Linked DNA regions of Homo sapiens: all the other regions are linked to region 6. The links are contacts of gene promoters, found by promoter capture Hi-C in blood cells and fetal thymus (Javierre and others, 2016). All regions are on one chromosome and are shown on one strand. The core of a region is centred on a gene start or on the middle of the fragment in contact, and the rest is flanking DNA. Distances in the headings are between cores, read along the strand shown. Region 1 overlaps EIF3B (eukaryotic translation initiation factor 3 subunit B). Region 2 holds the start of SNX8 (sorting nexin 8). Region 3 overlaps CHST12 (carbohydrate sulfotransferase 12). Region 4 overlaps MAD1L1 (mitotic arrest deficient 1 like 1). Region 5 overlaps MAD1L1 (mitotic arrest deficient 1 like 1). Region 6 holds the start of MAFK (MAF bZIP transcription factor K). Region 7 holds the start of EIF3B (eukaryotic translation initiation factor 3 subunit B).

The links. Contacts are between HindIII fragments. The CHiCAGO score rates a contact against its expected background, and 5 or more counts as called.
Region 1: a contact is called between a fragment that was not itself captured here and the fragment with the promoter of MAFK in region 6, in 4 of 17 cell types (activated CD4 T cells, naive CD8 T cells, total CD4 T cells and 1 more). The highest score is 6.4, in activated CD4 T cells.
Region 2: a fragment that was not itself captured here is called in contact with the fragment with the promoter of MAFK in region 6 in 1 of 17 cell types (monocytes); the score reaches 5.6 in monocytes.
Region 3: a fragment that was not itself captured here is called in contact with the fragment with the promoter of MAFK in region 6 in 2 of 17 cell types (total B cells and total CD4 T cells); the score reaches 5.5 in total B cells.
Region 4: a fragment that was not itself captured here is called in contact with the fragment with the promoter of MAFK in region 6 in 1 of 17 cell types (M1 macrophages); the score reaches 5.1 in M1 macrophages.
Region 5: a contact is called between a fragment that was not itself captured here and the fragment with the promoter of MAFK in region 6, in 1 of 17 cell types (fetal thymus). The highest score is 5.1, in fetal thymus.
Region 7: the fragment with the promoter of EIF3B here is called in contact with the fragment with the promoter of MAFK in region 6 in 11 of 17 cell types (total CD8 T cells, naive CD8 T cells, monocytes and 8 more); the score reaches 11.9 in total CD8 T cells.

The regions. Positions count from the first base shown.
Region 1 is chr7:2,369,232-2,373,491 of GRCh38, forward strand. It overlaps EIF3B (eukaryotic translation initiation factor 3 subunit B), which reads left to right. Exons shown (of 19, transcript NM_001037283.2): 10 at 241-451; 11 at 2,546-2,618; 12 at 3,442-3,564. Among named protein-coding and RNA genes, the nearest start is that of EIF3B, 17 kb to the left of the region's middle. The HindIII fragment of the contact is 2,516 bases long and covers 1,316-3,831 here.
Region 2 is chr7:2,312,648-2,316,758 of GRCh38, forward strand. It overlaps SNX8 (sorting nexin 8), which reads right to left and starts at 1,794. Exons shown (of 11, transcript NM_013321.4): 1 at 1,681-1,794. The coding sequence starts at 1,774. RefSeq lists enhancers at 24-153, 1,898-2,398, 2,399-2,899 and silencers at 1,470-1,709, 1,810-2,079. The HindIII fragment of the contact is 8,361 bases long and covers 1-4,111 here.
Region 3 is chr7:2,419,034-2,422,974 of GRCh38, forward strand. The region is part of intron 1 of CHST12 (carbohydrate sulfotransferase 12); the gene reads left to right. Among named protein-coding and RNA genes, the nearest start is that of CHST12, 17 kb to the left of the region's middle. The HindIII fragment of the contact is 7,524 bases long and covers 1-3,941 here.
Region 4 is chr7:2,203,478-2,207,733 of GRCh38, forward strand. The region is part of intron 10 of MAD1L1 (mitotic arrest deficient 1 like 1); the gene reads right to left. LOC105375126 (a long non-coding RNA gene) reads left to right here. Exons shown (of 3, transcript XR_001745062.3): 2 at 814-862; 3 at 1,647-1,723. Among named protein-coding and RNA genes, the nearest start is that of MAD1L1, 27 kb to the right of the region's middle. RefSeq lists an enhancer at 1-192. The HindIII fragment of the contact is 6,485 bases long and covers 1-4,256 here.
Region 5 is chr7:2,185,806-2,190,029 of GRCh38, forward strand. All of the region lies in intron 10 of MAD1L1 (mitotic arrest deficient 1 like 1), which reads right to left. Among named protein-coding and RNA genes, the nearest start is that of MAD1L1, 45 kb to the right of the region's middle. The HindIII fragment of the contact is 616 bases long and covers 2,175-2,790 here.
Region 6 is chr7:1,528,617-1,532,632 of GRCh38, forward strand. It overlaps MAFK (MAF bZIP transcription factor K), which reads left to right and starts at 2,086. Exons shown (of 3, transcript NM_002360.4): 1 at 2,086-2,282. LOC100128653 (a long non-coding RNA gene) reads right to left here. Exons shown (of 1, transcript NR_149036.1): 1 at 3,837-4,016. RefSeq lists silencers at 1,916-2,185, 2,676-2,805. The HindIII fragment of the contact is 17,285 bases long and covers 1-4,016 here.
Region 7 is chr7:2,352,831-2,356,954 of GRCh38, forward strand. EIF3B (eukaryotic translation initiation factor 3 subunit B) reads left to right here and starts at 1,997. Exons shown (of 19, transcript NM_001037283.2): 1 at 1,997-2,590. The coding sequence starts at 2,092. It also overlaps a transcript of SNX8 not described here. RefSeq lists enhancers at 788-1,343, 1,014-1,083 and silencers at 1,884-2,023, 2,204-2,293, 2,344-2,453. The HindIII fragment of the contact is 9,918 bases long and covers 1-4,124 here.

The DNA of each region.
Region 1 (4,260 bases), core at 1,324-3,823, 840 kb after region 6:
TAATATTCTGTCTGCATTCACTCCTTGTCACAGTGAGCACAGTAGTGCCACAGGGTCCTGGCGAGGACCTATGAAGCTGCGCGGCATGCCCAGAGCAGTGGCTGTGCAGAGGGAGCGCTCAGCGTCAGCTGTGACAGCATTGAGCTTCTATATAGCAAATGAGTTGTTCTATTCTCTTCTGCTTTTCAGTTTCGTCATCACTTGGTCTTTGCTTTAACATTTTATTTTCCTGTTCTGCAGAGACTTTTCTTGGTCTCCTGGTGGTAACATAATCGCCTTCTGGGTGCCTGAAGACAAAGATATTCCAGCCAGGGTAACCCTGATGCAGCTCCCTACCAGGCAAGAGATCCGAGTGAGGAACCTGTTCAATGTGGTGGACTGCAAGCTCCATTGGCAGAAGAACGGAGACTACTTGTGTGTGAAAGTAGATAGGACTCCGAAAGGCACCCAGGTATGTAGATTCCCACAGGAACTGACGATTCCTTATCCTGAGCTCTGAAGTGGCCACCGTATTGTTTGGAGGGTGTTAATGGATTTTTTTTTTTTTTTTTTTTTTTTTTTTTTGAGATGGAGTCTCACTCTGTCACCAGGCTGTAGTGCAGGAGTGCGATTTCGGCTCACTGCAGTCTCTGCCTCCTGGTTTCAAATGATTCTTCTGCCTCAGCTTCCCAAGTAGCTGGGACTATAGGCGTCCACCACCACGCTTGGCTAATTTTTGTATTTTTATTAGAGACAGGGTTTCACCATGTTGGCCAGGCTGGTCTTGAACTCCTGACCTTAGGTGATCTGCCCGCCTTGGCCACCCAAAGGGCTGGGATTACAGGCGTGAGCCACCGTGCCTGGCTGAGAATATTATTTTCTTTCTAAGCACAAGGAGTAGTATACTCAAGATTTATTTTTTTATTTTTTTATTTTTGGTGGTTGATCATTTAATATTTATTTTATCAAAAAATTGCCTGAGTTGGCTGGGTGTAGTGGCCCATGCCTGTAATCCCAGCACTTTGGGAGGCCGAGGTGGGCGGATCATGAGGTCAAGAGATTGAGACCATTCTGGCCAACGTGGTGTGAAACCCCATCTCTACTAAAAGTACAATAATTAGCTGGGCGTGGTGGGAGGCTCCTGTAGTCCCAGCTACTCGGGAGGCTGAGGCAGGAGAATCGCTTGAACCCAGGAGGCAGAGCTTGCAGTGAACAGAGCGAGATTGCGCCACTGCACCCCAGCCTGGCGACAGAGCCAGACTGCGTCTCACAAAAAAAAAGAAATTCCTGAGTTTTCCCTCTAATAGAAGTATTCTTCTTTCTTTTATGTTAAGAAAGCTTTAATTGACATGTAGTTCACATGCCTGAAAACACCCCTTTAGAGTGGTGAACTGGTTCAGTGGTTTTTCGTGTGTTCAGAGTTATGCAGCCACCACCACTCATTTCAGAACGTTTTCATCGGCTGGGTGCGGTGGCTCCCCCGGGGTGGGAGGGAGGATAGCTTGAGGCTAGGAGTTTCAGACCAGCCTGGGAAACACAGTGAGACCCCATCTCCACAGATAATTTTTAAAAGATAGGAAAAAGGCCGGGCACGGTGGCTCACGCCTGTAATCCCAGCACTTTGGGAGGCTGAGGCGGGGCATCACAAGGTCAGGAGATCGAGGGTTTAGTAGAAACCCCGTCTCTACTAAAAATGCAAAAAATTAGCCAGGCGTGGTGGCGGGTGCCTGTAGTCCCAGCTACTCGGGAGGCTGAGGCAGGAGAATGGCGTGAACCCGGGAGGCGGAGCTTGCAGTGAGCCGAGATTGCACCACTGCACTCCAGCCTGGGCAACAGAGTGAGACTCCGTCTCAAAAATAAATAAATAAATAAATGTTTTTGTCACCCTACAAAGAAACAACATACCTGTTAGCAGCCTCTCCGCCCAGCTCCTGGCATCACGAATGTCTATGATTTCCCTATTCTGAACACACAGCTGGAATCGGATACTATGCCACCTTCTGTGTTTGACCTCCTTCACGGAGCACAGCGTTCCCACAGCTGGTCCACGGTGCTGAGTGTCAGCAGTAATCTCTTGTTGGGTGGACCCCGTTTCTTGGCCTCCTTCCTCTGTTGATGGACATCAGGGCAGTTTTCCCTCAGACTCCTCGAGTAGGGCAGGACTTCTTGAAGGTTATGGCTACAGGACACCCCACTGTCTGAAGTGGTTTACCCAGCCCCATTGGTGTGCCTTTAGGGCCCTCAGGACCCTGGCCTGCAGCCTGCAGTGTGGACCCTGGGACTGCTTGTGCCCAAGTGTGGCGGGCAGGGCGGCTCCTGGAGGTGGGATCTGGGTCAGAGTTACTTCATGCATGTCCAGTGGCTTCCAGTAGACGTGGTGCCGGCAGTTCTCCAGCCTTAGAACCGTCTTCCATCCTGAGGGCTGTGGCTTTCATCACTGCACATGCTCGTGTGTGAACCAGGCATGCACACTGAATCTTTCATTGTGACGTTGATCTTTGATTTAAACCTTTTCTCATATTTTCACTGTCCAGAATGTCACCCCTTCCCCCTTTTTTTTAAACAGGGTGTTGTCACAAATTTTGAAATTTTCCGAATGAGGGAGAAACAGGTACCTGTGGATGTGGTCGAGATGAAAGGCAAGTTGTATTTTAGTCACTTTGAGGCGAATGGGGCCTACGTGCTGTTTTACTCTTGGCTTTAACACTTCCATGCGAGGGGTTGTCTGAGCAGCTGAGTCAGGACTGTGAGCCCTCACCATGAATAGTCATCTCCAGGTCACAGAACGTGTTTAGAGCCTGGGCAACATAGTGAGACCCTCTCTGTACAAAAAACAAATAAAAAAAATTAGCCAGGTGTGGTGGTGCGCACCGATAGTCCCAGCTGTTTGAGACGCTGAAGCGGGAGGATCACTTGAGCCCAGGAGCAGAGGTTGCAGTGAACTGAGATTGCGCCCCTGCACTCCAGCCTGGGTGACGGAGCAAGACCCTGTCTAAAAAAAAGAGAAAAGAGATTGAGCCTGTGTTCTTGTTTGGCTTTTTGTTTTGCCATGGAGAAAAGGAGGAAGGAAGGGTTAAAAATAGGTGAGAAAATGGGAAACATGGCCGCCCTTCCAGGCAGGGAGACCGGAGGTCAGGATCCCACTGTAGGTGCACACTGGGTGCGAGGGAAGCGGCATCCACAGCTGCTGACAATGTCGGGCTCCTGCGGTCCTGCTGTGGGTGTCCTGCTCTCAGGAAGGGAGCAGTTTCACGTAGGTCACTCCACACAAGTGGAAGCAGCTGTCTCTGAAACTCCAGGAATGTGCACCTTTCCTGCTGTTGCTTGCTCTCCCGTCCTTTTAATGAACTTTTACACGTCGGGGGATATTTCTCTGTGGTTGAATAGTGAACATTTTAACTGATCAAGAGCACTATGTTCTGAATTGACCAAAAAGGGAGGGGTCTGTTTTGTGCATTTTAGAAACCATCATAGCCTTTGCCTGGGAACCAAATGGAAGTAAGTTTGCTGTGCTGCACGGAGAGGCTCCGCGGATATCTGTGTCTTTCTACCACGTCAAAAACAACGGGAAGATTGAACTCATCAGTAAGTAACCTGGTCCCTTTCCTCTTCTGAGTAGGTCAGCACAGATGATGACCCAGTCGCTGCCCAACAGTGAGCATTTGACTGGCCTAGGACCACTGCTGGGCAGGCCGGGACTCGCCTATGAATGGGGTGTGGCCTCGGCTGATGGAAGTGAGCGATGGCCTGGAGGTGCCGCCTCCTTGCAGGGTGTCTCTCTGAGCCCCGTTGAGCCCTCACGTTTAAGCGAGTATTTCCAAGGCTTCCATTCTCTGCCATCATCTCAAGTGAAGCTTTTTCTCTTCTGGCTGTAGCTGCTGTCCCTGGGCTTGGGGTCACTTCCTGTGGACATACTCCTGCCAGTCCCCAGTCTGGGTCAGGTGCCTTTGACCAGGGTGCGCAGAGCTGTTGCACACAGCTGTACTCTGCCCCCGTGCACCCGGTTCCAGGGGTGCCACACTGCACCCACCTGGGGCTCGCTCCTCACAGTGGTGCGTGGGCCCTCGCCTGTCTCACGGCACCTGCTGCCTGTGCCCTCAGCTCCTCACTTCATCCTGGGGTCTCTGCTCAGCACAGAGCCCGGTGCCCGCGGGGATTGAATGAGCCATTGCTTGTTGCTTCATAGGCGTGGGGTGTGTGTGTGTGGTAGCCAGGAGGTGGCGATGGGCTGTGTTCCTCACACAGGACTCTGGCTGCCAGCTGCCCTCCTGCAGAGCCATG
Region 2 (4,111 bases), core at 1,386-3,885, 780 kb after region 6:
TCTCGCCGACGAAGAAACTGTCTACCAACCCTCCAGAGCTCACTTCAGTCATCACCTCCTCAGCGACACCTTGCCAGACCTCCCCACAAGGGGATTCCCCAATCTTGTCCCCCCCCACCAAGAAGAAACCGTAACTCACACCAACACCCACCTACATCTCTTCTCTGGCAGCTAGGACCACAGGAAGGAACATCCAGAAATAAGGGGCACCCTCCTGTATTCCTTCTAATGTTTAGCCTCGTTTGTTTTGTTTTGTTTTGTTTTTTTTGAGGCGGAGTCTCGCTCTGTCGCCCAGGCTGGAGTGCAGTGGCGCTATCTCGGCTCACTACAAGCTCTGCCTCCCGGGTTCACGCCATTCTCCTGCCTCAGCCTCCCGAGTAGCTGGGACTACAGGCGCCCGCCACCGCGCCTGGCTAATTTTTTTTGTATTTTTAGTAGAGACAGGGTTTCACCGTGTTAGCCAGGATGGTCTTGATCTCCTGACCTCGTGATCCGCCCGCCTCGGCCTCCCAAAGTGCTGAGATTACAAGCGTGAGCCACCGTGCCCAGCCATGTTTAGCCTCATTAACCCAAATCCCTTAAAGAGAAATACAAGAGGCCAGGCGCGGTGGCTCACGCCTGTAATCCCAGCACTCTGGGAAGCTGAGGTGGTTGGATCACCTGAGGTCAGGAGTTCGAGACCAGCCTGGCCAACATGGTGAAACTCCGTCTCTACTAAAAATACAAAATTTAGCCGAGTGTCATGGTGGATGCCTGTAATCCCAGCTACTCAGGAGGCTGAGGCAGGAGAATCGCTTGAACCCGGGAGGCGGAGGTTGCAATGAGCCGAGATCGCACCATTGCACTCCAGCCTGAGTGACAGTGAGAATCTGTCTCAAAAAAAAAAAAAAAAGAAAAGAAAAGAAAAAGAAAAAAGAAAAAGACAGAAATACAGGCCAGGCACGATGGCTCATGCCCGTACTCCCAGCACTTTGGGAGGCCAAGGCAGGAGGACCGCTTGAGGCCAGAAGCTCCAGACCAGCCTGGACAACATAGCAAGATCCCATCTCTACAAAAATAAAAAAAATTACCGGGCGTAACTGCACGCGCCCGTAGTCCCAGCACTTTGGGAGGCTAAGGCGGAGGATCACTTGAAAGAGAGAGAAAAGCAGCTACACATCTATAGATTCGGTTCACAGATGAGAAAACAGAGGTCCCGAGAGGTGAAATTACTGGCCCAAGACCACACAACCGACAGGAGCTTGGGAGAGAGGATGTGGCTAGGAAAGGCGCCCAAGTCCGGGGAAGTGGCCCCCAGTGCCATCGCTCAGCGTGACCAGGCAGGGCAGAAGAGCAGGGCACCAGGAACGGGGCGAGGAGGAAACTGTCCCCGAGGACGCCTCTGAGAGCCCCGGGAAAGCGCCTCGGAACGCGGCCAGCTGTAACCTGGACAGGGCTCTCCCGGCGCAGGAGGGCAGGGGACCCCGAGGGACGGAGGCGCGAGAGAGCACGGGGACCCCCAAAGGACAGGCGCGCAGGAGGGCAGGGGGACCTCCGAGGGACTGGGGCGTGGGGCCGAACGCGGGGCGCGGGGGCAGGAAACGAGTCGGGGACCAAGCGCGGCGGCTGAGCCCCGTCCGCCGGGGGTGGTCGGGCCGCGCGCCCTGGGCAGGTGGGGGCTACCGCCGCCCCACGCCCTACCTGACGCCGGGGGATCCGCCTCCTCGTCAGCCTCCGCCTCAGCTGCCGCCCCGACTGCAGCCGCGGGCAGCGGGTCCATCGCGCGGCCAGTCATGTGAGCCCGCGCTCCCACGTGACTTCCTCCCGCGCCACCCGGCCGCGCAGCCCTGCCGCGCCGCGCCCTCGCCCCGCCCACACCCCGCCTGGTCACGCCCCCTCCCCCGCGCGCCACGCCCACAGTCCGCCCCTGCGGGCCCGCCGCGCTCCTCGCCCGGCCTCGCCACGCCTACAACCCGCCTAGCCACGCCCACATGCCCCTCCCCGTCCACGTGGACACGGAGCCTGCTGGTGGCGCAGGTTACCTCCCCTCAGGTTGGACCTCCGGACTCGCAGGTGCACTACCTCAGGCGCAAGCCTGCACCCACCGCACCCTCATTCACTCCCATCTCTCCTCGCCCAGTCACGCCCTTGTTCGCTCATTCACCGGTTACACTGGGGTTTTCTGACTCGCACTTCCTCATTCATCCACTCACCCACTCATTCGCTCACCCACGCACTGCATCCTGCATTCATTCATTCACCCACTCACTCACTGCATCCTACATTCATTCATCCACTCACACACTCACTCACCGCATCCTGCATTCATCCAGCCACTCACTCACTCACTGCATCCTGCAATCATTCACCCACTCACTCACTGCATCCTGCATTCATTCATTCACCCACTCACTCACTGCATCCTGCATTCATTCATTCACCCACTCACTCACTGCATCCTACATTCATTCATCCACTCACACACTCACCGCATCCTGCATTCATCCAGCCACTCACTCACTGCATCCTGCATTCATTCATCCAGCCACTCACTCACTGCATCCTGCATTCATTCATTCACCCACTCACTCACTGCATCCTGCATTCATTCATTCACCCACTCACGCACTGCATCCTGCATTCATTCACCCACTCACCCACTCACTCACTGCATCCTGCATTCATTCATTCACCCACTCACCCACTCACTCTCTGCATCCTGCATTCACTCATTCACTCACTTATTGCATCCTGCATTCATTCACCCACTCACCCACTCACTCACTGCATCCTGCATTCATTCATCCACCCACTCACTCATGCACTGCATCCTGCATTCATTCATCCATTCACTCACTCACTCACTTACTGCTTCTTCATACGTTCATTCACCCACTCACTCACTGCATCCTGCATTCATTCATCCACCCACTCACTCATGCACTGCATCCTGCATTCATTCATCCATTCACTCACTCACTCACTTACTGCTTCTTCGTACATTCATTCACCCACTCACGCACTGCATCCTGCATTCATTCATTCACCAACCCACTCACTGCATTCTGCATTCATTCAGTCACTCACTCACTGCATCCTGCATTCATTCATTCACCCACTCACTCACTTACTGCATCCTACATTCATTCATTCACTCACTGCATCCTGCATTCATTCATTCACCCACTCACTCACTTACTGCATCCTGCATTCATTCACTCACTCACTAACTGCATCCTGCATTCATTCACTCACTCACTAACTGCATCCTGCATTCATTCATCCACCCACTCACTCACTCACTGCATCCTGCATTCATTCATCCACTCACTCACTCACTGCTTCTTCATACATTCATTCACCCACACTCACTGCATCCTGCATTCATTCACCCACTCACTCACCCACTCACTGCATCCTGCATTCATTCATCTACCCACCCACTCACTCATGCACTTCATCCTGCATTCATTCACCCACTCACTCACTCACTGCATCCTGCTTTCATTCACGCAACCACTCACTCACTGCACCCTGCATTCATTCACCCACTCACTCACTGCATCCTGCATTCACTCACCCACCCACTCACTCACTGCATCCTGCATTCATTCATTCACCCACTCACTCACTCTGCATCCTGAATTCATTCACACAACCACTCACTCACTCACTCACTGCATCCTGCATTCATTCACCCACCCACTCACTGCATCCTGCATTCATTCATTCACTCACTCACTCACTCATGCACTGCATCCTGCATTCATTCACGCAACCACTCACTCACTGCATCCTGCATTCATTCACCCACTTACTCACTGCATCCTGCATTCATTCACCCACTCACTCACTCACTGCATCCTGCATTCATTCATTCACCCACTCACTCACTCACGCACTGCATCCTGCATTCATTCACACAACCACTCACTCACTGCATCCTGCATTCATTCATTCATTCACCCACTCACTCACGCACTGCATCCTGCATTCATTCACACAACCACTCACTCACTGCATCCTGCATTCATTCATTCACCCACTCACTGAGTCACTGCATCATGCATTCATTCATGCAACCACTCACTCACTCACTGCATCCTGCATTCATTCATTCACCCACCCACTC
Region 3 (3,941 bases), core at 468-2,967, 890 kb after region 6:
GCAATCCCCCTGCCTTGGCTTCCCAAATTGCTGGGATCACAGGCATGAACCACCATGTCTGGCTGTCCAAACCGCCTTTTAAAATTAAAACTTGGCTGGGCGTGGTGGCTCATGCCTGTATTCCCATCACTTTGGGAGGCCGAGGCAGGTAGATCACTTGAGCCCAGGAGTTCAAGACCATCCTGGTCAACATGGTGAAACCCCATCTCTACTAAAAATACAAAAATTAGCCAGGCGTGGTGGTGCACACCTGTAACCCAGCTACTCAGGAGGCTGAGGTGGGAGGATCACTTGAGTGGGGAGGTTGCAGTGAGCCAAGATCACGCCACTGCACTCAAGTCTGAATGATAGAGTGGAACCCTGTCTCCAAAAAAAAAAAAAAAAAAAAAATGGCTGGGCATAGTGGCTTACGCCTGTAATCCCAGCACTTTGAGAGGCCAAGGCAGGTGGATTCCCTGAGGTCAGGAGTCCGAGACCAGCCTGGCCAACATGGTGAAGCCCCGTCTCTACTAAAAATACAAAAATTAGCCAGGCATGGTGGTGGGAGCCTGTAATCCCAGCTACTTAGGAGGCTGAGGCAGGAGAATCGCTTGAACCCGGGAAGCAGAGGTTGCAGTGAGCTGAGATTGTGCAACTGCACTCAAGCCTAGGCAACAAGAGCAAAACTCCGTCTCAAAAAAAAAAAAAAAAAATTACCATTGTAACCATTTTTAAGCATGCAGTTTGGTGGTGTTAAGCACGTTCACATCACTCTGCAGCAATCACCACCCTCCAGCCCCAGAACTATGTTCATCTTGTAAAACTAAAGCTCTGTCCCCATTGAACACAAACTCCCATCCCCCTCCCCTGCCCCCACAACCACCATTCTACTTTCTGTCTCTAGGAATTTAACTGCCCTGGGAACCTCATACAAGTAGAATCTTGAAATATTTGTCTTTTTTTTTTTTTTTTTTTTTTTGAGATGGAGTCTCGCTCTGTTGCCCAGGCTGGAGTGCAGTGGCACGATCTCACCTCACTGTAAGCTCTGCCTCCCGGGTTCATGCCATTCTCCTGCCTCAGCCTCCAGAGTAGCTGAGACTACAGGCGCCCGTCAGCATGCCCGGCTAATTTTTTGTATTTTTAGTAGAGACGGGGTTTCACCGTGTTAGCCAGGATGGTCTTGATCTCCTGACCTCGTGATCTGCCCGCCTCGGCTTCCCAAAGTGCTGGGATTACAGGTGTGAGCCGCCACACCGGCCAAGTATTTGTCCTTTTGTTTCTGGCTTATTTCACTGAGCATAATGTCTTCAGGGTTCATCCATGTTGTAGCATGTGTCAGAATTTCCTTTCTTTTGAAGGCTGAGTAATATTCTACTACATGGGTTGACCACAGTTTGCTTGTCTGTTCATCTGTCGCGAACACTTGGGTTCCTTCCACCTTTTGGCTATTGTGAATGATGCTGACATCAGTGTGGACATGGGTGTGCAAGCATCTCTTCAAGACCCTGCTCTAAGTTGAGTGCAGTGGCTCATGCCTGTCATCCCAGCACTTTGGGGGGCCAAGGTGGAAGGATCACTTGAGGCCAGGAATTCAAGACCACCCTGACAACATAGCAAGATGCCATCTCTACAAAAAATTAGCTGGGCATGGTGGCAACCACCTATAGTCTCAGCTACTCAGGAGGCTGCTTGAGCCCAGGAGTTCAAGGCTGCAGTGAGGTTTGATGGCACCACTGCACCCCAGCCTGGACAACACAGTGAGACCCTGTCTCAGGAAAAGAACAACAACCTTGCTTTCAGTTATTTTGGGTGTATACACAGAAGTGGAATTGCTGTATCATATGGCAATTTTATTTTATTATTATTTTTTAAGACGGAGTCTCACTGTGTCACCAAGTCTGGAATACAGTGGTACAATCTCAGCTCACTGCAACCTCTGCCTCCTGGGTTCAAGCAATTCTGCCTCAGCCTCCTTGAGTAGCTGGGATTACAGGCGTGAGTCACTGCACCTGGCCCCTCATATGGTAATTTTATATGATAATTCTGTGTTAATTTTTTTTTTTGAGACAGAGTCTCACTCTGTTCCCCAGGCTGGAGTGCAGTGGTGCCATCACAGCTCACTGCAACCTCCATCTCCTGGGCTCAAGCGATCCTCTTGCCTCAGCCTCCTGAGTAGCTGGGACTGTAAGTGCACACCACCATGTCCTGCTAATTCTTTTTTTTTTTTTTTTTTTTTTTACATTTTTTTTGTAGAGAAGGGTCTTGGTATGTTGCCCAGGCTGGGATGCAGTGGCAACATCATAGCTCACTGCAGCCTCAAACTCTTGGGCTCAAGCAATCCTCTCACCTCAGCCTCCTAAGTAGCTGAGACTACAGGCACACACTACCATGCCTGGCTAGTTTTTTAGTTTGGTTTTTTTTTTTACTTTTTTTTTTTTTTTTGAGACGGAGTCTCGCTCTGTTGCCCAGGCTAGAGTGCGGTGACGCGATCTTGGCTCACTGCAACTTCCACCTGCCAGGTTCAAATGGTCCTTCCATCTCAGCCTCTCAAGAAACTGGGATTACAAGTGTACACCACCATGCCAGGCTAATTTTTTTATTTTTAGTAGAGACAGGGTTTTGCCATGTTGGCCAGGCTGTCCTCAAACTCCTGAGCTCAAGTGATCTGCCCACCTCAGCCTCCCAAAGTGCCAGGATTACAGGCATGAGCTACTGCGCCCAGCCTTTTTAAACATTTTTTATAGAGATAGGGTCTTGCTATGTTGCCCAGGCTGGTCTTAAACTCCTGGGCAGTTCTCCCGCCTCAGCCTCCCAAAGTGCTGGGATTACAGGCATGAGCCACCATAGCTGGCCCTAAAAGATATTATTAATACTTAGTTATAATCCTAAAATATTTTCCTTGTAATTAAACTGAAATCTTATTAAATTATCCATGAAAAGTCATAGGTTTTATAAAATGATGTAGTCACTGGCATTGGTTGTATATATGTAATGCTTCTTGGCTGAAAAATAAGCAGAAGTGCTTAGGTTGGCTCAGTAACGCCCTTATCTAGTTCTTAGGTACAGAATTCGTGGACGGCGGCAGCATCCCTGGCCTCTGGCGTCTGCCTATGTCGGCGATGTGACTGACTCCCCTGCAGCTTCACTCTCCTCGTTAGTCTTCATCTTAATTGGCAACTTCCCTCTCAAGTTGTTTGTCATGTTAACTTTTCCCCTTTGCTACTTTCTTTTTCTTTCTTTTTTTTTTTTGAGAGGGAGTTTCCCTCTTGTGGCCCAGGCTGGAGTGCAGTGGCGCCATCTCGGCTCACTGCAACCTCCGCCTCCCAGGTTCAAGCGATTCTCCTGCCTCAGCCTCCCGAGTAGCTGGGATTACAGGCATGTGCCACCATGCCCGGCTTATTTTGTATTTTTAGTAGAGACAGGGTTTCTCCGTTATTGGTCAGGCTGGTCTCGAACTCCTGACCTCAGGTGATCCACCCGCCTCGGCCTCCCAAGGTTCTGGGATTACAGGCGTGAGCCACTGCGCCCTGCCTCTTTTTTTTTAGATGGAGTCTTGTTCCGTCACCAGGCTGGAGTGCAGTGGTGCGATCTCAGCTCACTGCAAACTGCGACTCCCGGGTTCAAGCGATTCTCCTGCCTCAGCCTCCCCAGTAGCTGGGACTACAGGCACACACCACCACACCCAGCTAATTTTTGTATTTTTAGTAGAGACAGGGTTTCACCGTGTTGGCCAGACTGGTCTCGATCTCTTGACTTTGTGATCCACCTGCCTCGGCTTCCCAAAGTGCTGGGATTACAGGAGAGAGCCACTGCGTGCAGCCCTGCTTTGCTGCTTTCTTAGCCTTCAGAAAACCTTTTTTTTTTTTTTTTTAGTGTGGTTTCATTCACTGTCATCTGAAGAAACTGTTGATTGTTACACATCCTCGAGAGGGGTGGTCCTGAAAACTTGAACAGCACAGGTA
Region 4 (4,256 bases), core at 147-2,646, 670 kb after region 6:
ACGCACATCTCTTTTGAACTAAAAATCATCCTTTTAAGAATTTACCCAACCAGCATAGCATGGCTAATTGGGGAAAGAAGCTGGAAACACCCTAAGTGTCCATCAACAGGGGCTGCTGGAGTCTGAGTCCGTCTGCACTCCAGCACACCCTGCAGTTCTTTAAAGTAGTTCAGCAGACCAGCCTGCGCTGGGGCCAAAAAACTGTCAAAAACTGAGTGAAAACAGTTGCAGAATAAAACTGTGGAAGGAGCCCCAATTTTAAAAGGTGATGGGAGTACATAAAGAGCTTCTATGTACACACATTTCCAGAACGACACACAGGAAACTCATCAGGCATTGCCTAGAAAGACGAACCGGGGCCAAGCACAGCACGCCCTGCTGCCCACCTCCGGGGCAATCAGTTCTATTCTGGAACAGCCCCCCAGGAATACTGAGAACACAAGGTGACGATGGCTAGGAAGCTGTGACACAGGGCACCCAGCCCTGAGTGAGGTCACCAGGGAGGGCAGGAAAGGAAGAACACGTTCCACTTTTCATTCCATTCATTTGCATTTATGCAGCTTGTTCTGCTTTTCATCAAATGTGAAACTCCTTGACCCTCTGCAGCCTGCACTGACCCCACATGCTGCCACTCCTCACAGCACTCCTGTGACGTAACAAAGACCCAGGAGGTGCACGCAGCCGTGGCCGTAGGCCTTCCATAAACTCAGGGGATGGGTCCCTCCCCAAATGAAGGCTGGCTTAAACAGCACCCCCAGGCCACTCTCCAATTCAGTCCAAGTCGCCACTAAGGAATTTTCCTTCCCCTCACAGCTAATCCGAAGAGCTGACCGTCTGCTGTTGACAGGCCAGCTTGAGTGAGGTATGATCTGCGCACGTGAACAGTTTGACAAGAGCAGTGTCATGAGCTTTGCTGCGTGTACACCTGTGCGGCGATCACATCCATTACGCCAAAGGGTATTTCTAGCACCCCATAAGACCCCAATCATATCCCAGCACGAGACTCCAGGGATCACTGACCTGCTTTCTATCACTGTTGCTCAGTTTTACCTTTTTAAAAAGTTCAAATCAATGGGATGGTATAGTAAGTATAAACTCAGTAAGTCTGGCTTCCTTCACTCAGCAAGAGAGACCCTTTCATGTTTCCAAGCACCGCCGCTGCCGCGCATTACACTGCGTGGAGACGCCACGGTCCACGTATCCCTTCACCTGCTGACAGGCACCTGAGTTGTTCCTGCTCTCAGACTGTTAGAATAAGGCTCTACAAACATTCCTGTACAAGTCTTCATGAGACCACATTTTCTCTTGGGTTTCTCTTAGATTAAATACCGAGGAATGGAACTGCAGGGTCACACCGTAAGTGTGTACAAAGCTACCAAACCATTTCCAAAGTGGCCGTACCACTTGCTACTCCCAGGGGCAACAGGCCTGGCTGCTCTGCATCTCTGCCAGCAGTCAGGATGGTCAGTCTGCTTAATTTTAGCCATTTTATTGGGTGCCCAGTGGTATCTCACTGCAGTCTTGAAACCGCCTTTACAGAATTTTAAGTAACGAGAGAAATCTACATTACTGACTCCACCTTGCTTCTAACCTCACAGGATCTTTTCTTTTTTTTTTTTTTTTTTTTTTTGCTTATTCTAATACAGAGGCCAAGATAACTATGAGAGGAATGTAGTTTATAGTTAAACTTCAAGGCAAGGAAAAATGACACCCGTCCTTGTTTGGAGATTAAGACTGGCATTGCTACAGGGGCCTGAACTTTGCTAAAGAACAGGCACGGGTAAACCATGACCTGTCACTGCTTACTTAGCTTGCTCTTCTACAGTGCCTGCTACCCGGAGTCACGTAACCAGACGTTGTCAGATTCGGAACTTCCCTAACGGCTCCTACAGACATCACTGCTGTGAAACCTAAAAAACTGGTCTTTGGGATATTTTTCAGATTTAGCATTTCAGCAGATCAAGAGATGCCACCTGGACTTGTGACCCCATCTCCCAGGAACTGACTCAGCTGCACGGAGACAGTCCTGACACCCCTATCATTGCATCCCCAACACAACCAACCAGCATTCACCACTCCCTAGGCCGCTGCCCGCCAAAACACCCTCAAGCCCTCGCCTCCTAATTCTCAGGGAGACAGATGTGAGAGTTATCTCGCGTCCACCTCCCTCGGCTGGCTCTGCAATCATTAAACTCCCTCTCTGCTGCCACACCTGCCGTTCTCAGTGCATTGGCTTTCTGGGCAGCAAGAAGAACCCTGTTGGGCGATTACAGTCTTAATTTGCATTCCCCTAATAACTAACAATGTTGACCATCTTTTCATGTCCTTATTTACCACCTATATATCTTCTCTTGTAAAGTATCTGTTAAAAGCAGGCCGGGTACAGTGGCTCACACCTGTAATCCCAGTGCTTTGGGAGGCCAAGGCAGGCAGATCACCTGAGGTCAGGAGTTTGAGACTAGCCTGGCCAACATGGTGAAACCTGTCTCTATTAAAATACAAAAATTAGCCGGGTGTGGTGGTGCACGCCTGGAACCCCAGCTACTCAGGAGGCTGAGGCTGGAGGATTGCTTGAACCTGGGAGGCGGAGGTTGCAGTGAGCCAAGATCATGCCACTATACTCCAGCCTGGGCGACAGAGCAAGATTCCATCTCCAAAAAAATAAATAAATAATAAAGTATCTGTTAAAAGTCTTTTGACCATTTTTTAAACTATGGTAATCTTACTAATTTGTAAGAGTTCCTTCTCTATCCTGGAGCACATCTTTGGTCAGATACATGTTAATATCTCGCAAATATTTTCCTAGTCTATGGTCTGCCTTTTCACTGTATCTTTTGAGAGCAGAAGTTTTCAATTTTGATGAAGTCTAATTTATCAATTTTTTCATTTATGGTTCATGTTCGTTGTATTGTAAGACCTCTTTGCCAAACCCTAGCTTCCAGATTTTGTGACTTTTACACATAGGTCTATGCGTCATTTGAGTTAAATCTTGTGTCCAGCATGAGACAGGTGTTAAGGCTCATCCTCACCACGAAGAGCCTACTGGTTTACCACCCTCGGTGAAAAGATTCTTTCTCCCACTGAATTATCTGGACACTTTGACAACAATCAACACTGTATTCTTCAATCATTTCTGAACATTCTACTCTGTTCTCCTGATTTACATGTCTATACTTAATACCACAGTGTCTCAATTTATGCAATTTACAACGTGTCTTGAAATTGGCCAGTGTAAGCTGTATAACTTGTTCTTTTTTGAAACTGTTATGGCTATAACAATTTATAGGTACTTTACATTCCCATAGAAATTTTAGAAATTGTCAGCCGGGCACAGTGGCTCATGCCTGTAATCCCAGCACTTTGGGAGGCCAAGGCGGGTGGATCACTTGAGGTCAGGAGTTCAAGACCAGCCTGACCAACATGGCGAAACCCTGTCTCTACAAAAATACAAAAATTAGCCAAGCATGGTGGTCCATGCCTGTAGTCCCAGCTACTGGGGAGGCTGAGGCAGAATTGCTTGAACCCAGGAGGCAAAGGTTGCAGTAAGCCAAGATCGCACCATTGCACTCCAGCCTGGGCGACAGAGTAAGATTCCGTCTCAAAAAAAAAAAAAAAAAAGAAATTTTAGAGATCAGTTCATCAATTTCTGCTGGGGCTTTGATTGGGACTATGTTAAATATTTGGGTCAATTTGAGCAAACTGCCATCTTAACAATAATGAATCTTCCAATACACGACCACAGTACCTTTACGATACTCTGAAATATATATTTGGTCTTTCTGTTCCCTGACATACATGCAGCTCCTTATCTGGAGTGAGAAGAGTGTCTCTTGTGAACTAATGAGCTGAGTGCTGGTTGGCAGCCCCCAGGCAGCTTCAGATAGGGTGGTTATCCGAAACACCAAGGTGAGATTAGAGGGTTGGGACTTTGAGTCCCACCCCTCAACCTCCTAGGAGGGGAGAGGGGCCGAAGGGTGAGTTGATTTCCAACGGCCAATGGTGTAATCAATCATGCCTCTGTGATGAAGCCTCCATAAAAACCCACAAATAAGGCCAGGGTTCAGAGCTGCACACACAGAGGCTCCTGGAGGGTGGTGTGCCCAGAGAGGGCATGGAAGCTCCGCGCCTCTCCTCACACCTCACTCTGCCAACCTGTTCACCTGTATTATTCGTAACATCCTTTATAAGACATGACTAAACATAACAAAGCATCTTCCCGAGTTCTGTGAGCCACACTAGCCAATTAATGAAACCCA
Region 5 (4,224 bases), core at 1,233-3,732, 660 kb after region 6:
CCTCCATTTGTCATCTAAGCCACCGGACTCACCCCCACCCCCAGCCTACCTGTTCAGGAGGCCCTTGGGCCAGGGTGGGCAGCATTTTCAGAGCCCTTGACCCCAGTCGGTCCATTAGGGAGGGTGCCTGAGAGCCTGAAAGCTACCAGGGCAGACAGATGAGCCTGCAGGCAGGAAGCACTGTCATCTGAAACATCTGTCACAGAAAGCACTGTGCTAAGAATACAGCAGCTGACTTTAAGTAAAGGGCAAAAATCGGAAACACTAACAACATCAATGAATGTTATCAGAAAAATGGGCAATCTTAAGTACTGTTAACAGAAGTATAATTTTGGAACGTAATTTGGCAAAAATTATTAAAGTGTTAAATATTCATACTCTATGTCTTAGCATTCCCATCAATAAAAAGAATGTTTCAGATACACTTAAAAAATATGTTTAATGAAATGGTATTCACTAAATCTGTGTGTTAATAGCAAAAAGAAAAAATTGGCAACAACTGTAGTGTATGCTAATAAGGAAATAGTTAAAATATGTGCATTCTACGATGGAATAATGGCTACTAAAGAGTAAACACCAGACATTTCAAGTAACTCAATCCAAGGGAAAATAATATAACAATACAGGCCGTATGATGCCATTTGTTATGTACGTAAGACGTCCATGCACATAAAAATTATGTAAGGACTTATAGCAAACTGCTAATGTTAACCTGGGATACAGCAGAATTTGAAAAAGCAGAGAAATCCAAGAAAGTTTCACTTTAATTCTGTACTGTTTGAGCTTTCTTTGTAGTGAGGATGGATTTACATTATCCTGTACAATATTTTTGAAAAGCATGTCACAGAGCTGTAGGATCACATGTGAGTCCAACTTGTGAGCCTCTTCTCGCCTTGAGGGACTAAGCGCTAGGACAACAGTTCACTAAGTGTGGTCTGCAGACACCATTCTAGGCAGTCTTGTAACATCAAAACTATTTTCTTTTTCTTTTTTTTTTTTTTTCTCTGAGACGGACTCTCGCTCTGTCCCCCACGCTGGAGTGCAGTGGCACAATCTCAGCTCACTGCAAGCTCCACCTACCAGGTTCAAGTGATTCTCCTGCCTCAGCCTCCCCAGTAGCTGGGATTACAGGCATGCGCCACCACGCCCGGCGAATTTTTTATTTTTAGTAGAGACGAGGTTTCGCCATGTTGGCCAGGCTGATCTTGAACTCCCAACCTCAGGTGATCTGCCCACCTTGGCCTCCCAAAGTGCTGGGACTACAGGCGTGAGTCACTGTGCCTGGCCATCAAAACTATTTTCATAATAATACTAAGTGGATCACTTGAGGTCAGGAGTTCGAGACCAGCCTGGCCAACATGACAAAACCTCATCTCTACCAAAAAATACAAAAATTAGCCAGGCATGGTGGCGTACACCTGTGGTCCCAGCTACTGGGGAGGCTGAGGTGGGAGAATCACTTGAATCCAGAAGGTTGAGGTTGCAGTGAACCAAGATCATGCCACTGTACTCAAGCCTGGGTGACACAGCAAGACTCTGTCTCCAAAAAAACAAGGAATAATAATAATAAGCTATTATTTGCCTTTTTTCTTCTAACTGTGCTGACATTTGAACTGAAGATACAAAAGCACTGATGGGTATAACACGTTAGCAAAACAAACCAGGGGCACCACGTGGGGTCTCGCTATGCTGCCCAGGCTGGACTGCAATGGCTACTGACAGGCACAATCACAGCTCCCAACAGCCACAAACTCCTGGGCCCAAGCCATCCTCCCACCTCAACTTTCCGAGCAGCTGGAACTACAGGAGTACTGGGCCCAGTTAAAATATTCACTTCATTAAATCTTAACCCCTTGATAAGATCTCAACATTCTGTGTGAAGAAATAGAAAGCACATGTAAGACATTTCTGGTGCATACTAAAGTGCGATGGTTGGTCTTCCATGTTTGAGTTGTGAACTGAACTAGCCCTTTTTATGTAAAATATTTTACTTAAAAACTAACTGACCAACAATAGTTACTCAGGCTTGAGCATCTGGTAGACATTTTCTCAAAAACGAATTAAATAAACGTTATCATTTGAAAGAATACAACCACGAGTATTTGTTGACAATAATAAAACTCAAGCTGCCAAACACATATCTAAATTCTTAAAAATTTGTATCTACCACCACAAGCTTGATGGATTCCTAACGTTTAAAGACTTTTCAATAACTTGTGGTGATTAGCTTGTAATTTCTTTAATAAGGCATAATAAAAGACCTACATAATTCAGTGCGTCGATATTTTCAAATGAGCAATGTATGATGTTACATAACCATGCATGGATAAAGGTCCATTCAAAGTGCAAGAGACCAATGAATTTTAGTACGACAGTTTGAAAAGATTATTCCGTACCACAACTAACCTTCCAGAAACCACTACGTGTGGAACACTTGCTGTTAAGATGTCAACACCGCCCAAAGCCATCTAGACGTTCAATGCAATCCCTATCAAGACCTAACTAAATATTTTGCAGACATAGGAAAATCTATCCTAAAATTCATATGGAATCTCAAGGGACCCAAAGGTCCCTCGCCAAAGCAATCTTGAAAAGTTAGAACAAAGTTGAAAGAGTCACACTTTAAGTCAAAACTTACTACAAAGCCACAGTAATCAAAACAGTGTGGTGCTGACAGAATGACAGGCATATGGACCCATGAAATACAGTAGAGATCCCAGAAATAAACACTTTCGTATGCTCAAATAATTTTTGACAAAGGTGCCAAAACCATTCAATGAGGAATGGACAAGCTTTTCAACACATGGTGCTGGAAAACTGGTCTCCACATGCAAAAGAATGAAGTTGGGCCCTTAAACCATACACAAAAAATTAACCCAAAACAAATCAAAGACCTAAATGTAAGACCTAAAACTATAAAACTCTTAGAAAAAAACAGGGGAGAAGGTTTATGACATGGGATTTGGCACAGATTTCTTGGATATGACATCAAAGGCACAGATAACAGCAAAAAAAAAATAGACAAATGAAATCTTGGTAAATTTTTAAATTTTAAATTTGTCAAAGGACACTATCAACAGACTGAAAACACAACCTATAGAATGGGAGAAAATGTTTGGAAACCGTATCTGTAAGAGAAAAATATTCAAAACATACAAGGGAACTCCTAAAACAACAATGAAAATAACGCGATTCAAGAACAGGCGAAGAACCTGCATAGACATTTTTCCAAAGAAGACACACAACTGGCCAAGGAGCACATGGAACGGTGCTCCACACCACTAATCATTAGGGAAATGCATATCAAAGCCAGAACAAGACACCACCTCACACTCATTAGGATGGCTACCACCAAAAAAAAAATCACATCACATGGTGATGATGTGGAGAAACTGGAACTCCTGTGCACTGCTGATGAGAACGTAAAATGGTACAGCCACTGTGGAAAGCAATGTAGTGGCTCCTAAAATAGTTAAAAGTTGAACCACAGGATCCAGCAGGTTGAAAGCAGGGGCTCTAAGAGATATCTGCCCGCTCGTGTTCAGAGCAGCATTATTCACAGTAGCTACAATGTGGAAGCAACCTAAGTGTCCATCAACAGGTGACTGGATAAGAAGAACGGATCGTCTATCCATACAACAGAATATTACTCAGCCTTAGAAAGAAAGGACATTTTGGCACATGCCACAACATGGATGATCCCTGAGGACATTATGTTAAGTGAAATAAGCCAGTCACATAAGGACAAATATTTCATGATTCTCCTTCTATGAGGTCCCTACTGTAGTAAAAAATCACAGAGGCAGGAAGCAGAATGGTGGGTCCTAGAGCCAACGGGGGAGCACAGGGAGCGAGCGTTTAATGGGTACAGAGTTTGGCTTTGGGAAGATAAAGTTTTGGAGGTGGATGGTGGTGATGGTTGCACAGCAATATGAATGTTCTTAAAGCTACTGAACTGTACACTTAAAAACAGTTAACAGTCAATTTTATTGTATATGTATTTGACCCAATACAACAAATCGGGGAAAAGAAAAGCATCCTCCTCAACCTGATGAACAGTATCTCGCAAGACCCTAAAACTAACCTCATGCTTCAGGAAAATCTAAACGCTTTCCCTCTAAGGCTGACAAGGCCAGGACAGCCATTCTCACCATGCCCAGGTAAAACTGCACTGGAGGTCCCAGTGAGTGCACTAAGGCAAGAAAAAATAAACGAAATAAAAAG
Region 6 (4,016 bases), core at 836-3,335:
GCGGGTGGATCACCTGAGGTCAGGGGTTCGAGACCAGCCTGGCCAACATGGTGAAACCGTCTCTACGAAAAATACAAAAATCAGCCGGTGTGGTGGCGCACGCCTGTAATCCCAGCACTTTGGGAGGCCGAGGCAGGCAGATCACAAGGTCAAGAGATTGAGACCATCCTGGCTAACATGGTGAAACCCGTCTCTACTAAAAATACAAAAAAAAAAAAAATTAGCCGGGCGTGGTGGCAGGCATCTGTAGTCCCAGCTACTCAGGAGGCTGAGGCAGAAGAATTGTTTAAATCTGGGAGGCGGAGCTTGCAGTGATCCGAGATCGTGCTACTGCACTCCAGCCTGGCAACAGAGTGAGACTCCATCTCAAAACAGCAACAAGAACAAAAACAAAATTTAACCAGACGTGGTGGTGGGCACCTGTGATCCCAGCTACTCGAGGGGGCTGAGGCAGGAGAATCACTTGAACCTGGGAGGCGGAGGCTGCAGTGAGCCGAGATGGTGCCACTGCACTCCAGCCTGGACGACAGAGTGAGACTCCATCTCAGAAATAAATAAATACAAATTAAAAAATTAAAGAGATAATAAAAGTGTGTGATTAGTAACAAAAGCCTGCTATGGAAAGAATGCATTTGGGTTAGAGGAGCGACACCATGAGTAACGTAAAGAGTCCCGCGGAGATGGCCACAGCTTCTCTGGAGGCTCCCAGCGCATCCCAGGACCCCGAGTGCAGAGTGTGGGCCAGGACAAGGGAAGCACCTTTCCCATCCCCGGGGGATGTCTTTCTGCAAACATCCTGGGGACGTGGGACATTGTCGCTACTGCTGCTGTTGAGTTATTTCTTGGCACCTGTTTCTGCGGCCAGGTTGCAGGCATCACTGTGGCTAGCTGCCCCAGACGGCCGTGTGGGCCTTAGCAAGGAGGGGCCTCCCAGGTGGCCAGTGCAGAACCCGCAAGTGGGGGGGAGAGATGGCCCGGGAGGCTGCCCCCGCGCTCCACAGCAAGAGGCCACTGGGCTGCTGCCTAAATCCCCAGCCACATGGTGGTAAGGACGACACCCAGAAGATGCACAGACCTCCCTGCACTGGCTCCTGAGTCCCACCTGAGCCGAGAAAACAGGCTCCCGGGTCCCACCTGAGCTGAGAAAACAGGCTTCCCAGAACCCCGGGCAGATGCCATGGGTGTCCTGGGGGGCCCTCGGTTGCCCAGGCCTGAAACTCCTCTTCCTGCAGCGCTCAGAGGGGGGCGGGACTTGGGGACCCAGAAGCGTGGCAAGGGGCTCCAGACGGATCCCCTCTCCAGCCTGTCCTCCACCTGTGACAGGAAGCAGAGGCAGCTCCCTCAGGGGCCCGCCCCCACCTGAGGATCCCTCACAGGACTCCTTGGGCCAGTGGTGCCCTAACCCCATCCTGGGCCTGCTGTGTCCCCTGGCAACCACCAGCTGGGGCTTTAGAAGGGGGCTGGCCCCACCCACAGAGGCTGTGATCACTAGCCGCTTATCCCCATTTTTACATTGCTGGTTTGCTTGTTTTGTTTTTTTGAGACAGGGTCTCACCTTGTCACCCAGGCTAGAGTGCAGTGATGAAATCATGGCAGCCTCCACCTTCCAGGTTCAAGCCATCCTCCTGCCTCAGCCTCCTGAATATCTGGGGCCGCAGGCACATACCACCACGCCCGACTAATTTTTGTAATTTTTTTGTAGAGATGGGGGTCTCACTGTGTTGTCCAGGCTGGTCTGGAACTCCTGGGCTCAAGCGATCCTCCTGCTTTGGCCTCCCAAAGTGCTGGGATTACAGGCATGAGCCACCGTTCCCAGCTGGCCTTAATGTTTTTTATGTTTATAGAGACAGAGAATGGGGGAAGGGAGGTTTCGCTATGTTGCCCAGGCTGGTCTTGAACTCCCGGCCTCCAGAGATCTTCCCGCAGGGCCTCCCAAAGCGCGGGGATTGCAGGTGCGCGCGGGGCCAGCGGCCCCCCGGGCGGGAGAGGAGGGCGTGGCCGGGGGGCGTGGCCGCGGGGCGGGGAGGGGGCGTGGCCCGGGGGGCAGGGCGGTGTGACGCGCGCGCCGCGGATCCCGGAAGCGGTGTCAGATGCTGGGGAGCCGGGCGGGCGGGTGCGGTGGCGGCGGGCGGCGCGGGGGCACTTGTTGTTCTTCGCGAAGTCGGAGCCCGAGCGCCAGGCGGCGGCGGCGGCCGAGGGGAGCGCGACAGTGAGCGCCGGCGCGAGGACAGCGCGTGCCCGCGAGGAGCCGCCGCGCGCCCGCGCCCTCCGCGCGACGCCAGGTGAGGGGCGGTGGGGCAGCGGGGCCCGGGCCGCGGCGGGGACGGGGACCGGGGCGCGGGGCCGGGGCTACCTGGCCGCTGAGTCACGGCCGCCTGGGGGCGCGGGCCGAGGGTGGCGGGGTTGGGTGCGCGGGGCCCGAGACCCTCATGCGGCCCGCGGCGCGGCCCGGGCACCTGCCCAGGTGGGCCCCGCCCCGCAGGCCCGGGGGCTTCCCCGGGACGCGAGGCTCTCTCCCCTGCACGTGCCGCCCGGGCCATGCTTGCCGCGCCGGGGGCCCCAGGGCGCGGACCCCAGACCTGGGAGGACGAGGATCCACGCGGGTCGGCGGCGCGCATCGGGCCCGCGCCTTCACACCTGCGGGGGGCGGGGCGGGGCGGGCGCCACGTGCGGGCGGTGCGGGGAGGGCGCGGGCGCGTGGATTCTCCGCGGCTTCCGCCCCAGCGTGGCTTCCGCGTGCGGCCCCGGACTGCCCCCCGCGCTTCCTCCCGGTGACGGGCGGCGCTCTGGCCCAGTGGCTGGGGTCACGCGTGCCCGGGAACGGGGTGGGGGTAACCGGGTCTCCCCACAGGCGGGATCCTGGGACTGGTGTCGCTCTCAGCCGCCCACCTGCCAGGGTTGCTGGAAGGAAGGCCGTGGGGAGGCGGGAGGGGGGCAGGTGACAGTGGCCCCAAGGCTCGTCCCTTTGCTCACGTGTGGGGCAGGGGCTCCGGCCTCTTCCCGCTCCCACTGCGTGAGTTCTTCTGTGCCTCTGTCAAGTTCAGGAAACTGTGTATGTGCCCGTGACTGTGTGTGTCTGCGTCTGCACAGCCTCTAGATCCTGGGGGGTGGGACCAGGCGCCACCGAGAAACCCAGAAAGCCAGGACCCCGCCTGGCCTTGGCCCTTGACCTGGGTCCGCCTGGGACACAGCAGTGGCCCTGCACTGCATTCTCGCGCTCACACCGTGTGTGTCCGTGTTCGCGGGGCCTCCCGTGTCCCTCTCCTGGTGTCCTGCGTCCCTGAGCATGCTGTTTTCTTGCTTCTTAAGTAGCTCTTGTAGCTGAGGCAGAAATTAGATCCACTCACCATTCATTCACCAGGTGACCCACAGGCAGCCAGCCAATCTCTGGCCAGGTGCCTGGCCTTGGGAAGATCCTGAGACTCAAAACGCCCCCCACCGCCCCCCATCGTGGTCTAGGGGATATCTGTGTGGTTCGGCTCTGGCAGCGCCCTTCCCACCCCTCTGATTCTCCAGGGTGGGCTGCCAGGTCTCTTTACTGGCACTGAGGTTTCACCGTCACGGTGTGTTGTTGTAAGGGGTTCTCCAACACAGAGTGGGGTGCCCTATGCAGCTTCTCCAAACCCAATGTCTTCAGGGACATGGAGCATTAAAAGAGCCGTGGGCGGGGTCTGGAGAACATAGGTGGGCTGTGCAGGTGTCTGGGACACACCTACACCCTATTTGGGCGTCCAGTGCCATTTATGAGAACATCTCCCTTTCTTAGGTAACCCAGTAGGAATGTCTGAGTTTGACCTTGGGAGAGGGAGTCTGCTTTTAAAACTAGACCTCTCATTATTCCAAAATAAGACATTTATTAAAGCAGAAAAACCAGGCTTCTCCTGCCTTTTATCCTTGAACCGAGCCAGGGCTTTGAGGGGCTGGTTGCCCGCAGCGTCGACTCCCCAGGTGCTGGTAAACCCGGGAGCCAGCGTTTACCGAGGGTCAGGGTTGTCGGGGCGCCAGCCTTTGTGTGC
Region 7 (4,124 bases), core at 747-3,246, 820 kb after region 6:
GTCTAAATAAAAAAAAAAAAAATTGTCATCCCTTATTGTACAGATGCGGAAACTGAGGTGGAGGCATTAAGTGACCTGCCCAAAGATACACCACTGACAGCATGATGAGGAGTAGTCAAACCTGGTACTAGGCATGGGAAGACTCTGCTTCTTTTTCGCTCTTTTAAACACCGTTAGGATGGGATGGGTGTGGTGGCTCATGCCTATAGTCCCGGCACTTTGGGAAGCTGAGGGAGGAAGACTGCTTGAGGCCAGGAGTTTGAGACCAGCCTGGGCAACACAGTGAGATGCTATCTACAAATAAAGAAATTAGCTGGGCACGGTGGCACATACCTTCAGTCCCAAGTACTTGGCAATGTACTTAATGTCACTGAACTGTACACTAAATTGCATATTAAAATGGCTAGGCCCTGCGCGGTGGTTCACGCTTGTAATCCTGGCACTTTGGGAGGCTGAGGTGGGAGGATTCTCTTGAGGCTGGAAGGTCCCGATTGCAGCGGCGCTGTGATTATGCCACCGCACTCTAGCCTGGGCAACAGAGCGAGACCCTATCTCTGAAAACAAACAAAACAAAAAAACTATAGGATGAAATATACATAAAATTTACCTTTTTGGCATTTTATTTTATTTTTTCGAAGACAGGGTCTCGCTATGTTGCCCTGACTGGTCTTGAACTCTTGGGCTCAAGTGATCCTCCTGTCTTGGCCTCCCAAAGTACTGGGAAGAGAGGTGTGAGCCACCGCGCAGGGCCTAGCCATTTTAATATGAAGTTTAGTATACAGTTCAGTGGCATCAAGTACATTCACCATGTTGTACCATCACCACCGTCATCTCCAAAACGTTCTCATCCTCCCAAATTGAAGGTCCGTCCCCGATAAACACTCCCCACTCTCCACCCCAGCCTCTGGGTACCACCTGTTTTATTTATTTATTTAATTTTCGTAGAGATGAGGGCTGGCGTGCGGGGGGTGGTGGTGCTATGTTGGCAAGGCTGGTCTCCAACTCCTAAGCTCAAGCGATCTTCCCACCTCAGCCTCCCAAAGTGCTGGGATAACAGGCGTGATCCACTGGGTTGTTTTCTAGGATGATTAAGACATCCCCCAACCAGTGGTTGTCCTCCACTCCGGCAAAAAACAAGATAGAAGCCACATGCACCCAATGCCCGTCCCGTGAGCACCCGCGCAGAGCGAACCGCTCCGGTCCCTCCGGAGTCAGCCTCGAGCTCCACGCGGCGAGGACCCGCCCCCGCCCCCACGTGACCCGCGCTGTCCCGCGCTGAAGGCGGCGGCCTCGGATGGACTGAACCACTGTGAAAGCCCGAATGGGGGGAAACAGGCAGTGACGGCCGCTAGGGAAGGACTGGGGGTAAGCGATTAAAGAAACTTCCATACATTTTTGTATCGCGCCAGGCAGTCGTCCTTCTAGTCGTGTGGGCCCTCTCTGGCTCGCCCCGAATTCCTTTTCTATTTTGAAGTAGTCTGTCCTTTTGCTCAGTCAGTAGGCGAGTCCAAGTGACAGACACGGACAGGGGGGACTTTAGTAACGTAAACTAAACGGTTTCCCTAGCGAAAGGCTCAGACGCCCTGAGCAATCGCCTGTTGAGTCTCCACTCTTCCAGGGTATTAACTGTTGAGTTAGAGGACATTTTCCTAGCATTCCGGGTACTAAAATCATTTCTTGTCCCCGCCTTCAGCTCCACAAATAGTTCAGTCCCGCCCCGCAGCGTCCGACGGGAAAGGAAAGGGGGAGGACGCCATGTTGGACGGAACCATCTGCTGCCACACATGGGGTGGTCAATGCTCCCATGAGTTTACTGATGCACAGAAACAACCTTGCTGAATGGAATTAAGCACTTTCTTGTCACAAATATATCAGTTTGATGATTTTCGGGCGCGGTCTTGTGGATGCGAGTCCTCTCAGGGTCGTTCGTGAGGCCCCAGGGCGTGGGTGCGCCCCCCGCCCCGCGGCCTTGGTGCGGCCTCCCCGTCGCACGCACATGGCTGGGCTGTAGCCGTCGCGGCGCGCGGTGCGGCCTGGGAGAGTCGGAAGCGCGGCGGCCGCGGAGCCCTGCGAGTAGGCAGCGTTGGGCCCATGCAGGACGCGGAGAACGTGGCGGTGCCCGAGGCGGCCGAGGAGCGCGCCGAGCCCGGCCAGCAGCAGCCGGCCGCCGAGCCGCCGCCAGCCGAGGGGCTGCTGCGGCCCGCGGGGCCCGGCGCTCCGGAGGCCGCGGGGACCGAGGCCTCCAGTGAGGAGGTGGGGATCGCGGAGGCCGGGCCGGAGTCCGAGGTGAGGACCGAGCCGGCGGCCGAGGCAGAGGCGGCCTCCGGCCCGTCCGAGTCGCCCTCGCCGCCGGCCGCCGAGGAGCTGCCCGGGTCGCATGCTGAGCCCCCTGTCCCGGCACAGGGCGAGGCCCCAGGAGAGCAGGCTCGGGACGAGCGCTCCGACAGCCGGGCCCAGGCGGTGTCCGAGGACGCGGGAGGAAACGAGGGCAGAGCGGCCGAGGCCGAACCCCGGGCGCTGGAGAACGGCGACGCGGACGAGCCCTCCTTCAGCGACCCCGAGGACTTCGTGGACGACGTGAGCGAGGAAGGTGAGGGCGCCCGGGGCGGGGCTGGCGAGCGGCGCGGGAGCGTGGCTGGGGTTCCCGAGGTGGGAGATATCGTCGGGCTGTGCCACCGGTTCGTGCAGAAGTTCCAGCGAGGGTGTCCGTGTGTTCCTGAGAAGCCACCGAGGGAGGGGTTCCCGAGTGCCCTGGAAGTGTTCTGAGAGCCCAGCGCCTCCCCTTTTCTTTCCTGAAAAAGGGGACAGGGTGGAGCTCACTTCGGGAGCCAGGCATTTGCATGACAACCAGAAATCTGAGAGGGTGGGAGAGGGCACATGGGGTACTCCGTTATGGCTGGGTGTGCTGTGAGTGTAGCAGCTGGGGGTACGGCAAAAACCGAAGACCCGGTGGCAGGTTTGCGGGTCTACGTGTCCCCAGAGCTGACCAGTCAGACCTCCCAAGGTCTGGATCGGAGGAACAGCTTGTGGCAGAGCCGGTGATTTTGTCCTCCTGCCCCTCAGAATTGTCCATCTCCAGAGACTTCCTTAGTGGGACAGGCACCCTGTGAAATTCCAGTTTGATTTTTCTTTATCTCTTGCGCTAAATCTATAAAGAGAGTTATTTTTCCAGGTTTTAATATTGCCGATAACAGCCAGCTTTGCCTTCATCTCAACCTTGATTGGATTTACAGGCATATTTTTGCTTCCTGTCTCAGAGATTTTTTCCTGAAGCTACTTCTGATGAGAGCTGGTCTCATTTGTTTTTCTTTTGTTTTTTAGCTCTCTTAAGCCTTTAAGTTGGGAACACATCAGCCTCTGCAGATTGGCTAAGTTGATACTAGAGTGAGAAAAATAAAAATACCCTTGCTGATGTAGCCAGCGATACACCAGGACAATTTCGGGAATAACATGGAGTTGCCAATTTATGATTTAAACGTATTTTTAAAAGGCTATCAGAGGGCCGGGCTGGGTGGCTCACGCCTGTAATCCCAGCACTTTGGGAGGCCGAGACGGGTGGATCACGAGGTCACCATCCTGGCTAACACGGTGAAACCCCGTCTCTACTAAAAATAAAAAAAAATTAGCCGGGCGTGGTGGCGGGCACCTGGATTTCCCAGCTACTCTGGAGGCTGAGGCAGGAGAATGGTGTGAACCTGGGAGGCGGAGCTTGCAGTGAGCCGAGATCCTGCCACTGCACTCCATCCTGGGCGACAGAGCAAGACTCCGTCTCAAAAAAAAAAAAAAAAGAAAAAGAAAAAAAGGTTATCAGAAATACAAGTCAGCCAGGTGTGCTGGTGCACACCTGTAGTCTCAGGTACTTGGGAGGCTGAGGCACGAGAATCACTTTAACCCAGGAGGTGGAGGTTGCAGTGAGCCTAGATCCCACCACTGCCTGGGCGACAGAGTGAGACCCTGTCTCAAAAAGTGAAAAATTAAAAAATAAAAACGCTGTCAGTTACTGTGACCATTACTATATTACACTTTTTTTTTTCATAAAAGACATTTTAGCATGAAAAGCAGGAAGGACACCACAAACTAAAGACTTTGGGAACATCTAGTCTACGCCCCTCAGTCCTGAGGAA